5 separate regions of the Homo sapiens genome follow, and regions 1, 3, 4 and 5 are each linked to region 2. The links are contacts of gene promoters, found by promoter capture Hi-C in blood cells and fetal thymus (Javierre and others, 2016). All regions are on one chromosome and are shown on one strand. Each heading gives the region's core, a stretch centred on a gene start or on the middle of the fragment in contact. The rest is flanking DNA. Distances are from core to core; before and after follow the strand shown.

What was found. The method cuts DNA at HindIII sites, captures the fragments that hold promoters and counts their contacts. A CHiCAGO score of 5 or more calls a contact.
Region 1: a contact is called between a fragment that was not itself captured here and the fragment with the promoter of ADK-AS1 in region 2, in 1 of 17 cell types (total B cells). The highest score is 5.1, in total B cells.
Region 3: a contact is called between a fragment that was not itself captured here and the fragment with the promoter of ADK-AS1 in region 2, in 1 of 17 cell types (activated CD4 T cells). The highest score is 5.1, in activated CD4 T cells.
Region 4: a contact is called between a fragment that was not itself captured here and the fragment with the promoter of ADK-AS1 in region 2, in 3 of 17 cell types (M2 macrophages, M1 macrophages and M0 macrophages). The highest score is 6.4, in M2 macrophages.
Region 5: a contact is called between a fragment that was not itself captured here and the fragment with the promoter of ADK-AS1 in region 2, in 1 of 17 cell types (fetal thymus). The highest score is 6.1, in fetal thymus.

Annotation. Positions count from the first base shown.
Region 1 is chr10:75,029,254-75,031,953 of GRCh38, forward strand. It overlaps KAT6B (lysine acetyltransferase 6B), which reads left to right. Exons shown (of 18, transcript NM_012330.4): 18 at 1-2,700. The coding sequence ends at 1,793. Among named protein-coding and RNA genes, the nearest start is that of SNORD172, 8.9 kb to the left of the region's middle. RefSeq lists an enhancer at 872-1,371. The HindIII fragment of the contact is 2,870 bases long and covers 1-2,700 here.
Region 2 is chr10:74,528,017-74,530,716 of GRCh38, forward strand. It overlaps ADK-AS1 (ADK antisense RNA 1), which reads right to left and starts at 1,308. Exons shown (of 5, transcript NR_120673.1): 1 at 1,277-1,308. The region is part of intron 7 of ADK (adenosine kinase); the gene reads left to right. It also overlaps the pseudogene MRPL35P3. The HindIII fragment of the contact is 4,742 bases long and covers 1-2,700 here.
Region 3 is chr10:74,980,055-74,982,754 of GRCh38, forward strand. KAT6B (lysine acetyltransferase 6B) reads left to right here. Exons shown (of 18, transcript NM_012330.4): 11 at 1,733-1,874. Among named protein-coding and RNA genes, the nearest start is that of SNORD172, 40 kb to the right of the region's middle. RefSeq lists an enhancer at 2,500-2,549. The HindIII fragment of the contact is 634 bases long and covers 1,107-1,740 here.
Region 4 is chr10:74,265,871-74,268,570 of GRCh38, forward strand. All of the region lies in intron 3 of ADK (adenosine kinase), which reads left to right. Among named protein-coding and RNA genes, the nearest start is that of ADK, 120 kb to the left of the region's middle. The HindIII fragment of the contact is 781 bases long and covers 1,006-1,786 here.
Region 5 is chr10:75,002,339-75,005,040 of GRCh38, forward strand. The region is part of intron 13 of KAT6B (lysine acetyltransferase 6B); the gene reads left to right. Among named protein-coding and RNA genes, the nearest start is that of SNORD172, 18 kb to the right of the region's middle. The HindIII fragment of the contact is 190 bases long and covers 1,348-1,537 here.

The DNA.
Region 1 (2,700 bases), core at 98-2,597, 500 kb after region 2:
GTGGCGTCGACCTGACAGCTTCTTGTAACAGTGAGCCCAAGGAGCTTGCTGGGGACCCTGAAGCTGTACCCGAATCTGACGAGGAGCCACCCCCAGGAGAACAGGCACAGAAGCAGGACCAAAAGAACAGCAAGGAAGTCGATACAGAGTTCAAAGAGGGAAACCCAGCAACCATGGAAATCGACTCTGAGACTGTCCAGGCCGTTCAGTCTTTGACCCAGGAGAGCAGCGAACAGGACGACACCTTTCAGGATTGTGCCGAGACTCAAGAGGCCTGTAGAAGCCTACAGAACTACACCCGTGCAGACCAAAGTCCACAGATTGCCACCACGCTCGACGATTGCCAACAGTCGGACCACAGTAGCCCAGTTTCATCCGTCCACTCCCATCCTGGCCAGTCCGTACGTTCTGTCAACAGCCCAAGTGTCCCTGCTCTGGAAAACAGCTACGCCCAAATCAGCCCAGATCAAAGTGCCATCTCAGTGCCATCTCTGCAGAACATGGAAACCAGTCCCATGATGGATGTCCCATCAGTTTCAGATCATTCACAGCAAGTCGTAGACAGTGGATTTAGTGACCTGGGCAGTATCGAGAGCACAACTGAGAACTACGAAAACCCAAGCAGCTACGATTCTACTATGGGAGGCAGCATCTGTGGAAACGGCTCTTCACAGAACAGCTGCTCCTATAGCAACCTCACCTCCAGCAGTCTGACACAGAGCAGCTGTGCTGTCACCCAGCAGATGTCCAACATCAGCGGGAGCTGCAGCATGCTGCAGCAAACCAGCATCAGCTCCCCTCCGACCTGCAGCGTCAAGTCTCCTCAAGGCTGTGTGGTGGAGAGGCCTCCGAGCAGCAGCCAGCAGCTGGCTCAGTGCAGCATGGCTGCTAACTTCACCCCACCCATGCAGCTGGCTGAAATCCCCGAGACGAGCAACGCCAACATTGGCTTATACGAGCGAATGGGTCAGAGTGATTTTGGGGCTGGGCATTACCCGCAGCCGTCAGCCACCTTCAGCCTTGCCAAACTGCAGCAGTTAACTAATACACTTATTGATCATTCATTGCCTTACAGCCATTCCGCTGCTGTGACTTCCTATGCAAACAGTGCCTCTTTGTCCACACCATTAAGTAACACAGGGCTTGTTCAACTTTCTCAGTCTCCACACTCCGTCCCTGGGGGACCCCAAGCACAAGCTACCATGACCCCACCCCCCAACCTGACTCCTCCTCCAATGAATCTGCCGCCGCCTCTTTTGCAACGGAACATGGCTGCATCAAATATTGGCATCTCTCACAGCCAAAGACTGCAAACCCAGATTGCCAGCAAGGGCCACATCTCCATGAGAACCAAGTCAGCGTCTCTGTCACCAGCCGCTGCCACCCATCAGTCACAAATCTATGGGCGCTCCCAGACTGTAGCCATGCAGGGTCCTGCACGGACTTTAACGATGCAAAGAGGCATGAACATGAGTGTGAACCTGATGCCAGCGCCAGCCTACAATGTCAACTCTGTGAACATGAACATGAACACTCTCAACGCCATGAATGGGTACAGCATGTCCCAGCCAATGATGAACAGTGGCTACCACAGCAATCATGGCTATATGAATCAAACGCCCCAATACCCTATGCAGATGCAGATGGGCATGATGGGCACCCAGCCATATGCCCAGCAGCCAATGCAGACCCCACCCCACGGTAACATGATGTACACGGCCCCCGGACATCACGGCTACATGAACACAGGCATGTCCAAACAGTCTCTCAATGGCTCCTACATGAGAAGGTAGACAACGTGGGCAGTCCACAAAACCTACGGGGCATCACTATTGGATTGATCTGCACAAATACCTTTGAAGAGTACGATTTCAAAACCAGCAATTGGTGTGAATGCAAAAACATTTGTTGGCACCATTTATTTAAAAAAAAAAAAAGCTGTATGCAGCAGAAAGCCTTATACAAGTTGTTTTTCTTTTTTTCCTTTTTCTTTTTTTTGGTACCTTCATTTCTGTTACTTTTATATAAAATTCTCTGCAAAGGAAGGCCTCTCTTTGGACTACAATTTGGAGGCAGCCACTTGTTGTGCCTGCTTCTGTTAAACAATGTGGATATCAAGCCCCCCCAAATTATCTGTTTTAATATTGAACCTAGAGCTTTTTTTTTCCCTTCCCTGTCCACTCCATGTAAATGCCTTTAGCATTTCAGTTATTGTATATTTTGTTTAAGGTGACACTTCAGCATGCCGCTAATGTCTTTGTTAGTGACAGTGCATTTTGTAGTACTGTACAAGTGTTGTGCTAACAGTAAGCCATTTCTTAAGTTTTTTGCCTTGATTAGGGTGCCCTAATTTGAGGGTTTTAAAAAAAACTATATTTTTGTTAATTATAAAACTGTAAAGAGCTATAAAAGCTATTCCCATTTGGTTAGTCAAAAGGGTTTTATTGCTAAATGTTTGGTGTAAAGTTGAGACCCTTTTCCATTTTGGTGACAGATTTCTTTGGGGAAAAAAGGCAGCTTTCTGTTTTATAAATGCAGACTTCTGTTTATTGAATGAAGCATATCTCAGTGTTTATCTGTCAGGTTTTGAAACATTTCATATATGTCCAAATACTTGGCAGGATTTAAAAAAAAATAGTGAATTTGGTGTAAAGTTGCTATTTTATGGAAATGCCTCTAACTTTACATTTTCATTCCATC
Region 2 (2,700 bases), core at 58-2,557:
AATTTGTATTCGGCAATAAAACCCAGAGTAAACTCTTAAGATAAAATGACGACGTCCTTCTGGAAGAGGTGAAACTGGTATGTCCATGATCCTTATCAGAAGTGTCATGATCGAACAAACCTGAAAGTATAGATCAGAAGTTTCACTTGTTTCTCAGTTATTGAATATGTATCTTTGTGTACATATCTGCAAAAATGGATAAGTAAAAATCTCGATGTAAATTGTATCAATGAATATGTAAACATACAGTGACAACACTGAACTTATAAAAGTTTTAAAACTTAAAAAAAAAGCTCAAATTTGTAAAAGACATGTAAAAAGAAGGTGGAAAATGTATTTAGAATCAGGGAATGATGCTAAAAGTTTGGTAGAGACAAAAGAGAAAAGAAAGTCCCAAAAGTGGTTTAAGTTTGCAGCAGATGCTGATGATATCAAAACAATCTTCACTTAAAAAAAAAAAAAAGACTCCAAAGTACAAGCAACAAATGGAAAAAATAGATAAATTAGACATCATCAAAATTAACAATTTTTGGGCATCGAAGGACACTAACAAGAATGTGAAAAGACAACTAGTGGAATGGGAGTTAATATTTGCAAATCATATATCTGATAAAGGATTCATATTCAGAATATTTAACACAGTAACAACTCAACAATAAGCAAACTAACAACATAATTCAATAATGATCAAAGGAATTTAATAAACATTTATTCGAAGAAGATATACAGATGGCCAGTAAACACATGAAAAGATGCTCAACATAACCATTCAAGAAGTGCAAATCAAAACCAAAATTAGATACCACTTCACACCCATCAGAATGACAATTGTTTTAAAAAATGGAAATTAACAAGTATTGGTGAAGATGTGGAGAAATTGGAAACACTTGTGTATTGCTGGTGGGAATGTAAAATGGGAATGTAGAAGACAATTTGGTGGTTCCTCAAAATGTTAAACATAGAATTATTACCATATGATCTAGCAGTTCTACTTCTAGGTATATTACCCAAAATAACTGAAAGCAGGGACTCAGATAATTGTACACCAATGTCCATAGCAGCATTATTCACAATAGCTAAGATAGAAGCAAATCAAATATTCATCAACAGATGAATAAACAAAATTTCATGTATATATACAATGGAGTATTATTTAGCCTTAAATAAAATTTTGATACATGCTACAACATGAATGAATTTTGGAAATACTATGTTAAGTAAAATAAGCCAGACACATCAGACAATTATTGGATTTTCTAAGAAGAATTCCACTTACAAGAAGTATCTAGAATAGGCAAATTCATAGAGACACATAGTAGGATAGTGATTACCTGGGAGTGGGGTGGGGAGGAATGAGGCATTATTGTGTAATAAGTACAGAGCTTCTGTTTGGGATGATGAAAAAGTTCTGGAAATGGATAGTGGTGATAGTTGCGCCACACTGTGAATGTATTTAGTGCCAATGAATTGCATACTTAAAATGGAAAATTTTATCATATGTATAGTTTACCACAATTTTTTTGAAAAAGTTTTATTCTACAAATCAGTAAACTTAAAAGTTGGATCACAGCTTAGCATAGATTATTAAAGGAATTATTTTTCCCCACCTAGAAGAGGAAGTGGTAAAACTGTAAGCTGCTACGTGGCTGTAAGTCATGGGGCAAGAAAATCTTTTCTCTTTTGGTATGATTATTGTTCATTTGAATTCGCTTCAAGAGGTATTTATATAGTACCTAAGTACCTATTATGGCAGACCAATAAGCAGTGGATACATAGTATATTTTAGAACATCTGTCATTACGTGGACTATAGAATAATAAAGATTGGCTATAAGACAATTAGAGGTATTTGGTATTTTATTGAAGCAGTCTCAAAAGGTCTGTTGATAAATAAATTGATTTCTAGGGGTACGCCTCAGTGTTTACCCTGCCTTTGCTTAAGTAAACAGTGATTTAGATAAAGCTATATTTGCATATAATTCAAATGCAAATAATACAACACCTTAATACATACTAGGTAAGTTGAAGGTCAAAATCAGATTTTTTTAAATGTTAGTAGACTCTAAATATCAGTTGAGTGATGAAATTTAATAGGGATAATAAAAATTATATCGTATTTGATTATAAAAAGCAAGTAGAGTAAAATGCTTTATCCCTTTAATCTCATCATCCATTGTTTTTCTCCTTGAATACTATAGTGATAATGTTATCTTCAGTTTTCCAGGAAAAAAGAGACATTTTACTTCTAAAATGTGACGAAGGATAAAATATAGTTATCAGAGAATATACGTAGGATTCTTTAATATTTCCCCCCTCAAAAAAATAAAGTATACTGTGTTTAGTATAAATTTTTAAAATGTCAAAACTCAGCTAAAATCAAACACACTTGGCCCTTATTTTCTACATGTCACCTTCCTCTTGTCAGAGGATTGTACAGTAGTAATGATGATTTAAAACTTCTGATAGCCTCAATATTTAAAAAAAATAATACCTTGTCCACAAAGATTATTTCTTCACAGGCAATGATCAATGATCCCTGTGAGACAAGAAATAAATAAGATAAACCTGATGATTACCCCAGCTAACTCCTTGGAGATAATTTCCAGGCAACAGAAGAAAGGTAACTAAGGCCAAGCACAGTGGCTCACGCCTGTAATACCAGCACTTTGGGAGGCTGAAGCGAGTGGATCCTTTGAGGTCA
Region 3 (2,700 bases), core at 174-2,673, 450 kb after region 2:
AGGCTGAGGCAGGAGAATCACTGGAACCCAGGAGGTGGAGGTTGCAGTAAGCCGAGATTGCACTACTGCACTCCAGCTCAGGTGACAGACCAAGATCCCATCTCAAAAAATAAAAAATAAAAAGGAGAAAATAATGGTATCCAAGTTTTTGTTTGTCTTGAACTCAAGATTAGCCTGTGAACGAATATATCCCAAAATGGGTACATTGAGAATAGATGTCTTCCATAAAGTATGTCAGGGTACACTTTACTAGTATCTTCAAAAATTTTTTAGTCTGCAAAGTTTTCAGTATTTATAAACTTGATTTTCTTATAGAATAGATCTTATTTTTTTTCGTTAGCATGTGAGTGTCTGGCCAATCACGTAACTGGAGAAAATGCTAAGTGTTTTCTAAAAGTTAAGTGACAAAATAAGAGTCAAGAATTTTGGTTTCTCCTTCCTTATACCATTTGGTTGTGTGTTCTTGAACAATTTTAAAAGACTATGAGCTTTAATTTGCATAGGTAATGATAAGCCATGTGCTCTGAAAGATTTGAATAAAATTTGTACATAAGTGCAAGATTTGAAAGTAGTCTCACCTGTGTCTGCCTCTCTCTTGAAAACCTTTTTCCCCATTCTTATACTCCAAAGACCTTGCAAGTGCTTCTAAACATTTTCTTATAAATACCAGCCATGTTCATTAAGATATGGAAATAAAAAATGTTCTGATTTTTAAGGTGGAGAAAAAGTCAGCAGGGAAGAGAGGTGTTTGTCTTTTACTCAAAGTAACAGTGGAATTGGTAGAAAACAAATTAGGTCTTTTGATTTTCAGCCGTGCTATTTACTGCATTTAGACCATATATAAATCTCTGATAATAACTTTAAAGTTACCTCTTCCAGAGGTGGAAATGGTAACAACTAAGTTTGAGGACTTTTCAGCCTCATATGTATGCAGATTGTTTAAAATAATAAATTCACTTCTGAGTAAGATATTATATCTATACCACTAACCATATATAATTGGAAATAAGATAGTAAATGTGAATTTTGAAAAATATGCTTGGTCCCTTGACAGGATGATATCCTTATTAAGTTGATTTTTTAGGGTGGTGGTTCCACATCTGTAAAGCTTTCTTTATATAGGATATTTTTAAGGAAACAAATTATTTGTTCACAAAGTAAAGGGAGCACATATTATGGATTATATTAAAAAATAATGTATGGTTGTTTTTACATTCTGTCTTTACTATTGGCTGGCTTTCTTTCTTTCTTTCTTCCTTCCTTCCTTCCTTCCTTCCTTCCTTCCTTTCTTCCTTTCTTTCCTTTCTTTCCTTTCTTTCCTTTCTTTCTTTATTTTTTTGACGGTGTCTCACTCTGTTGCCCAGGCTGGAGCGCAGTGGTGCAATCTCGATTCACTGCAACCTCCGCCTCATGGGCTTAAGCGATCTTCCTGCCTCAGCCTCCCAAATAGCTGGGACCACAGGCATGTGCCACCACGCCCAGCTAATTTTTGCATTTTTAGTAGTGATGAGGTTTCACCATGTTGGCCAGGCTGGTCTCAAACTCCTGATCTCAGGTGATCTGCCTGCCTTAGCCTCCCAAAGTGCTGGAATTACAGGTGTGAGCCACTGCACCCAGCCTCCAATGTTATTATACAGCCTTTTTATGATGTAGAGAAAATTGAACAATATTTAATCTTCCCCCCAACAGTATAATCTATCTGATAGATTCTATGATTTTTAAACTTTAACAGATTACCAAAGCTTTACCTGTGTGAATTCTGTCTTAAATATATGAAAAGTAAAAATATTTTGCTAAGACACTCCAAGAAGTGTGGATGGTTTCATCCTCCAGCAAATGAAATTTACCGAAGGAAAGACCTTTCAGTATTTGAGGTAAGCGCGTGTAAATAAAAAAATTCAGCTTTTTGAAATCTAGTACTCCTAATTGTTGACTATGTGCTGATTTGTGTTTAGAAGGTACAAAGTATACTTAATTTTGGCACTGAAATTCAGACTGCCCTTTAAAACATCTCCATGTTTTGGAATGTTTATCTAACCATATTAAGCAACCATTTAGACTGATGAAGAATCCCTACTTCATCACATTAACATTTTTGTCTTCCCCAAAATCCCTGTCTACACTAGATATATTCACCATGAATTTATGATCTCCTCAGCTCTTTGTAAATTCTACTTTCTTTGGCAGGAGAAATGAGCTTTGTTCAGCAGCTCCAGCCAATGTCTGGCAGGTGCTCACTCTTCCAGGGAATTGAGCAGCTGTACATATCTCCTCAATACACAACCACCTGTGTTTCCATCCACTTCTTGGCAGTGTGGATAATCCTTTTGGTGAGACCCTAGCAGATGTTGGGACTCCCTCCCATCTGGGTAGATGGCCACCCCTGAAGAACTCTGCTGTTCACAGGAACCCCTTGTGGCCATATGTCTGTCATTGTGGGTTTCTTGAAGACATTTTGTATTTCCAGAATTGATTTCGTAGCAGGCCTTTGCCTCTATATAGTTGCATTGTTTAATTATGTATCTGTTGTCAGTTTCAGGGATTCCGTTAAGCTGAGTCAGTTTCACCTTGAGGAGACCATGCCTTTCTCACAGGTTACTGTCTGTCTGCAGGGCTTTTCACGTTTCTCCTTTATGCTCTTCCCTCCACTTGCACACTTCTGTTGTCTGCTGCATTTTCTCCTCTGTGACCCATTGTGGT
Region 4 (2,700 bases), core at 146-2,645, 260 kb before region 2:
ATTTAGGGGATCTAGGGCATGTGAGTAGAGGTTCTATTAGGTTTATAAAGTGCTTGTGATGATAATATAGGTTAAGGACCAAGTACCTGGGAAAGATCAAGGGCATACTAAATAGTTGTTCCTAAAGTAATGGGACAATTGCAGAGAGAGGGATGAGAGAAGGAGACTTAAGGATGATGTGTTGATGTGTATGTATATATAAATGAGACATAAATGACTTTTGGAAGGATTACTAAAGAAAAACAGCAATAGAAGAAGACTAGCCTATGTCCAGCAGCAAAAGGAAGTAGAAGACAGTGAGTCAGATAGTGACCAGTACAGGACGCTAGGTGGTGCCATTAGTCTTAGACTGCTTATTTGAAGTCTCTGGAGGCTCAGTAACCTCAGAATAGAAAGATCGAAAGGCGGCCGGGCACAGTGGCTCACGCCTGTAATCTCAGCACCTTGGGAGGCCGAGGTGGGTGGATCACGAGGTCAGCAATTCAAGACCAGCCCGGCCAACATGATGAAACCCCGTCTCTACTAAAAATACAAAAATTAGCCTGGCGTGGTGGCGGGCACCTGTAATCCCAGCTACTCAGGAGGCTGAGGCAGAGAATTGCTTGAACCGGGGAAGGAGAGGTTGCTGTGATCGGAGATCGCGCCACTGCACTCCAGCCTGGGTGACAGAGCAGGACTCTGCTTCAAAAAAAAGAAAAAAAGAAGAAAAAAAAAGGCACTGCTTGTATAGTAAATGAGCGAATTGTCTTATTGAGTATAACCCATAGTATATTATAGTTCTTGATATTTTCTTCTCCAGTGATCATTTTGAAAAATTTTCTGGAATTTGCATTGTAAAGAAGTTTGTCCACCAAATAAACTGTGTTTTAAAAGTAATAGTTCATTTCTTTCTAATTTTAAAGGTTGTATATAAAAAGGTATTTTCATTTAAAATTCATATTAAAAAAGATAATTGAAATTTTCATATTGAAATTATATAATCAGAAGGAACTTGGTGTTTTAATAAGCTTTAGTGGCCTTTTCCTAGGTCAATGTACAATTCCACTGAATTTTTTTGAAATACATATCCATGGGTTCCACATTGGTGGATTAAACCGTGGAAAGAAAATATTAGGGAAAAAGAAATTGCCTGTGTACAGAGCATGTACACATTTTTCCTTGTCAATATTCCCTAAACAATATGACAAAAGTTTACATACATTTCCATTGTATTAGATATTGTTAGTAATCTAGAGATGATTTAAAGTTTGGGGAGGATGTATGCAGGTTATATGCAAATACAGTTGACCCTCAAACAGCACAGGTTTGAACTGCATGCACCTACTTATATTAGTTTTTTTCCAGTAAATACAGTTGGCCCTCTATATGGGTTGGTTTGGCATCTACAAGCAAAAATGGATGGAAAATACAGTATTCAAGGAATGTGAAAGTTGTGTATATGGAGAGAAGGGCCAACTTTTTGGATCTATGGGTTCAACAGGGCCAACTGTGGTACTTTAGTATGTGTGCATTTTGGTATCCAAGTTGGGTCCTGGATCCCTCAAAGATACTGAGGAATGACTGTATTGAAGATGATTCCTTGATTCCTGTTACATTTTTTTTTAAGATTCCAGATTGGGAATAATTAAGTGCATTATTTGATTTCTGGAGATGAGTTACACCATTAAATTTTTGTTGATATGTGTATCGTGCAGGTGACAGAAACCCTAACTCATACTGGCTTAAGTAAATGGAAATTATTGGATCACATATCTAAAAAGATGTTGGTATGGCTGATTTTAGGTGAAGCTTGATGCAGAGGTTCAAATAATTTTATTTGGACCCTCTTCACCTCATCTTCTAGAGGTAGGGTACTGCCATCAGCTATTGGCTTATATCCTTATTTGTGTGTGTGTGTGTGTGTGTGTGTGTGTGTGTGTGTGTCTGTCTGTCTGTTTTAGTGGCTCTAAAAACAGGTGTAGGATTATGTCATATTAGGCCTCTTTGGCTTGTTTGGGTTCCATATCTACTCTGCAACTGGAGATAGAGTTAACACTGCTGGAAATTTATGGATTAAGAGTGTTGAAGGGATGATTCCCCAAAGAAAATTTGGATCTTATTAGGGAAATAAAGAATGGTTGTAAAATTGCACTTATTTCTTTAAGGAAGTCATCTTAAAGCTGTTTTTCTTTGCCAGGTATGGTGGCTCACACCTGTAATCCCAGCACTTTGGGAGGCTGTGGTGGGAGGTTCACTTGAAGCCAGGAGTTTGAGACCGCTCTGGGCAGCATAATGAGATCCCATTTCTACAAAATATTTAAAAGTTAGCCAGAGATAGTGGCATGAACCTGTAGTTCTAGCTACCCAGGAGACTGAGGCAGGAGGATTGCTTGAGCCCAGGAGTTCGAGGCTGCAGCTCGATTGCGCCACTGCACTCCAGCCTAAGCAACAGAGCAAGTCACCATATCTTTAAGAAACAGCAACACCCCCCAACACATGAAAAACTTTTTTTTTTTTTTGGCTAAGCTGTTCTTACACTATTGATTTTATTTCACTAGAATTTGTTTTTACTTTAATCTCATTTGTGCTACTTATTAGTTGTGTGACTTCTCAGAGTCCATTTCCTCACTGGCAAAATTGTTGATACAACTATTGATATAGTTATGGTGATGATAAAATAAGATAATGTGTGTGAAATACCTAGCCTAGTGCCTGGCATAT
Region 5 (2,702 bases), core at 193-2,692, 470 kb after region 2:
TTAGTTTTCTCTCTCTCTCTCTTTTTAGTGGCACTAACCAAAAAAAAAAAACAACAACAAACTAGGCTAAGCAAGTGCAGAGTCATTTATAAACTTGCATAGGTCTTTTATATACAGTCATTTATCATTTAAAAACTGAGATTCATTTTGAGAAATGCACCATTAGGCAACTTCATTGTCGTGTGAACATCATAGTGTATGTACTTAGACAGACCTAAGTCGAAGTCTATAGGTTACTACACACCTAGGCTATGTGGCATAGCTGATTGCTCCTAGGTGACCAACCTGGACAGCAGTTACTGTACTGGATACCGTAGGTGTTAGTGGTTGTAACATAATGGTATTTTTGTATCTAAACATATCTAAATATAGAAAAGGTACAGTAAAAATATGCTGTTATAATCTTATGGGACTACCATTGAATATGTGGTCCATCGTTGACCTAAACATCATTATGTGGTGCATGACTGTATTTATTGTTGATTGCCCATGTCTTTCACCAAAAGTAAGCTTCATGAGAGTGTGGACTTTGCTCTTTGCTGCATTCTGATCTTCTAGAAGAGCCTGGCGCTTAGTAGGTTCTTATTAATTGTTGAACAAATGTTAAATTAATTATGACGGGAAGAACTTTTAAAATGTGCTTTCCCTTCTAGTGTGTGATTCTTAGGGACAATTTTATTTTATTAGAACATAAACCATCAGCACTGGTTTACTTACTTCCAAATGATGCTAGGTATGCCCTGTCTTCTTTCGAGGTCTGGTACTTTTGCTGAAATGCAGCCTCTATCTTAAGATCATTTCAGTTGCATCAGAAAGAAGATGTCACTGCCTGCTCTAAACCTTGGGCGGAGAAAGCAGAGCTGTGACATAATCCACATTTGTACATAGCAGGTTGAAGAGACACTTAAATCTTTTGCTTACTTTTTCTCTTATCAGATAATTCATTTCTTGATTGCATTTATTTTTGAAAGGAAAATACCAGCTTTAGCCATAAGAAGCTGTCAAGAAAGCTTCTCTTTGCTTAGCCTTCCCAGCAGCTACGCTCCTGGGTGAGTGCAGTCAAGGCAATCATTAAAGAATAATAAGTTATGCTTTTGAAATGGTGCTCAAGTACTTCATAGCCTTTTCTAAGATAAGGAGCCTCCCACCTTTGCCCCCATGACACTTGTTGGAAAATACTGGACCAGCAGCTATATCCTTGGGCTTTTGCTGGGTTTTGGAAGACACATTTTGACCTATGTAATCAAGTATAATGATGACATTTATTTTAATAGGATTCTAGTCTGTAATATAATAAGGAAAATGGCTATTTTTCCTTATTTTCTCATTATAATATGTTACACTAAAAGCTTCTGCCATTACTGTTTTATTATATTGGTCTGAGGTACAATATATTTTAATATGCTAAAGATAACATCAAGGTTGAAAATTGAGCTCTCAGTGATTTATTCAGAGGTTGACTGTTGCTGAATGCATTGAAATGAGTTGCATGAGACAGTGCGGCTAACGATTTATTTGTGTATCTTTTTTTAAGCTAAGCTTGTCATAAATAAGAGCAAATAAATAGCTCTTATAGAATAGTTTGTATTCATTGCCTCAATGAAAACATTGTAAATATGAAACATACGGTCTGCAGTCTCTCTCATTTTTTCTGAAAGCTAGTGTTTTGCCTTACATAGCTCAGAATTTTTTCAAGTTTTGGCATGCAGGTGGTTGGTTTTTTTTTTTTACCAAACAAATTTTTTGTCTGTTTGGATTTCTAACGTTGACTGGCATTTGCATTGAGTTATTTTGAAATCCACTACTGGACAAATTCCATTCAAATAATTGGTATGAGAATAACCTAATCTTCAGCAGAACTGGAACAAAATGAAACCTTAGTGGGACCATCAAGAGGGCAGGAACTTGGTCATTGCTAAACTCCAAGCCATGAGCACAGTGCCTAGCACATAGAGGATACAGAATAAAGGATTGTTGGGGGAAATCAATGAATGCCTGAGTCTAGTTAATCCACTTCTTTGTATGACTGTCAACACCTGCCAGATGCATCCAGCTAGCTTTTGACCAGTAGTGCTTAAACTCAGATCTCCTCTCAGTCTTTGTTTTTTACACTTTATTTATCCCTTCATCCCATCCTTCAGCAAACATGCTTTAAATACACTGTGCCAGGGATGGTCTAGGTGATGAGGACATAAGGATGAATGATTTAGTCCTTGCCCATAGGGAAGTAGAGGGTCAGACACAAAATTCTTCCCAGTCCTGCAATTTCAAATTTCAGAGAGGCTGTGGCAGTGCAGAGGAGGAAATGCTTCCAACTCTATTTTCCATTTACCCAGTTAAGATATATAGAAGAGACGCATTTTTCCTTGCTTTTCTTTTTAAAGACTGGGTCTCACTCTGTCACCCAGGCTGGAGTACAGTGGCGTGATCATAGCTCACTGCAGCATTGAATTCCTGAGCTAAAGTGATCCTCCCATGTCAGCCTCCCAAGTAGCTGGGATTACAGGCACATGCCACCATTCCTGGCCATTTTTCAGGGGGAGGGGTGGGGGGTCAGCTAGAGACAGGCTCTTGCTTTGTTGCCCAGGCTGGTTTCCAACTCCTGGCTTCAAGTTATGCTCCTGCCTCGGCCTCCCAAGGCACTGGGATTACAGGTGTGAGCCACTATGCCCTGAGCTGTTGTTAAAACAAGATCAAGAAAG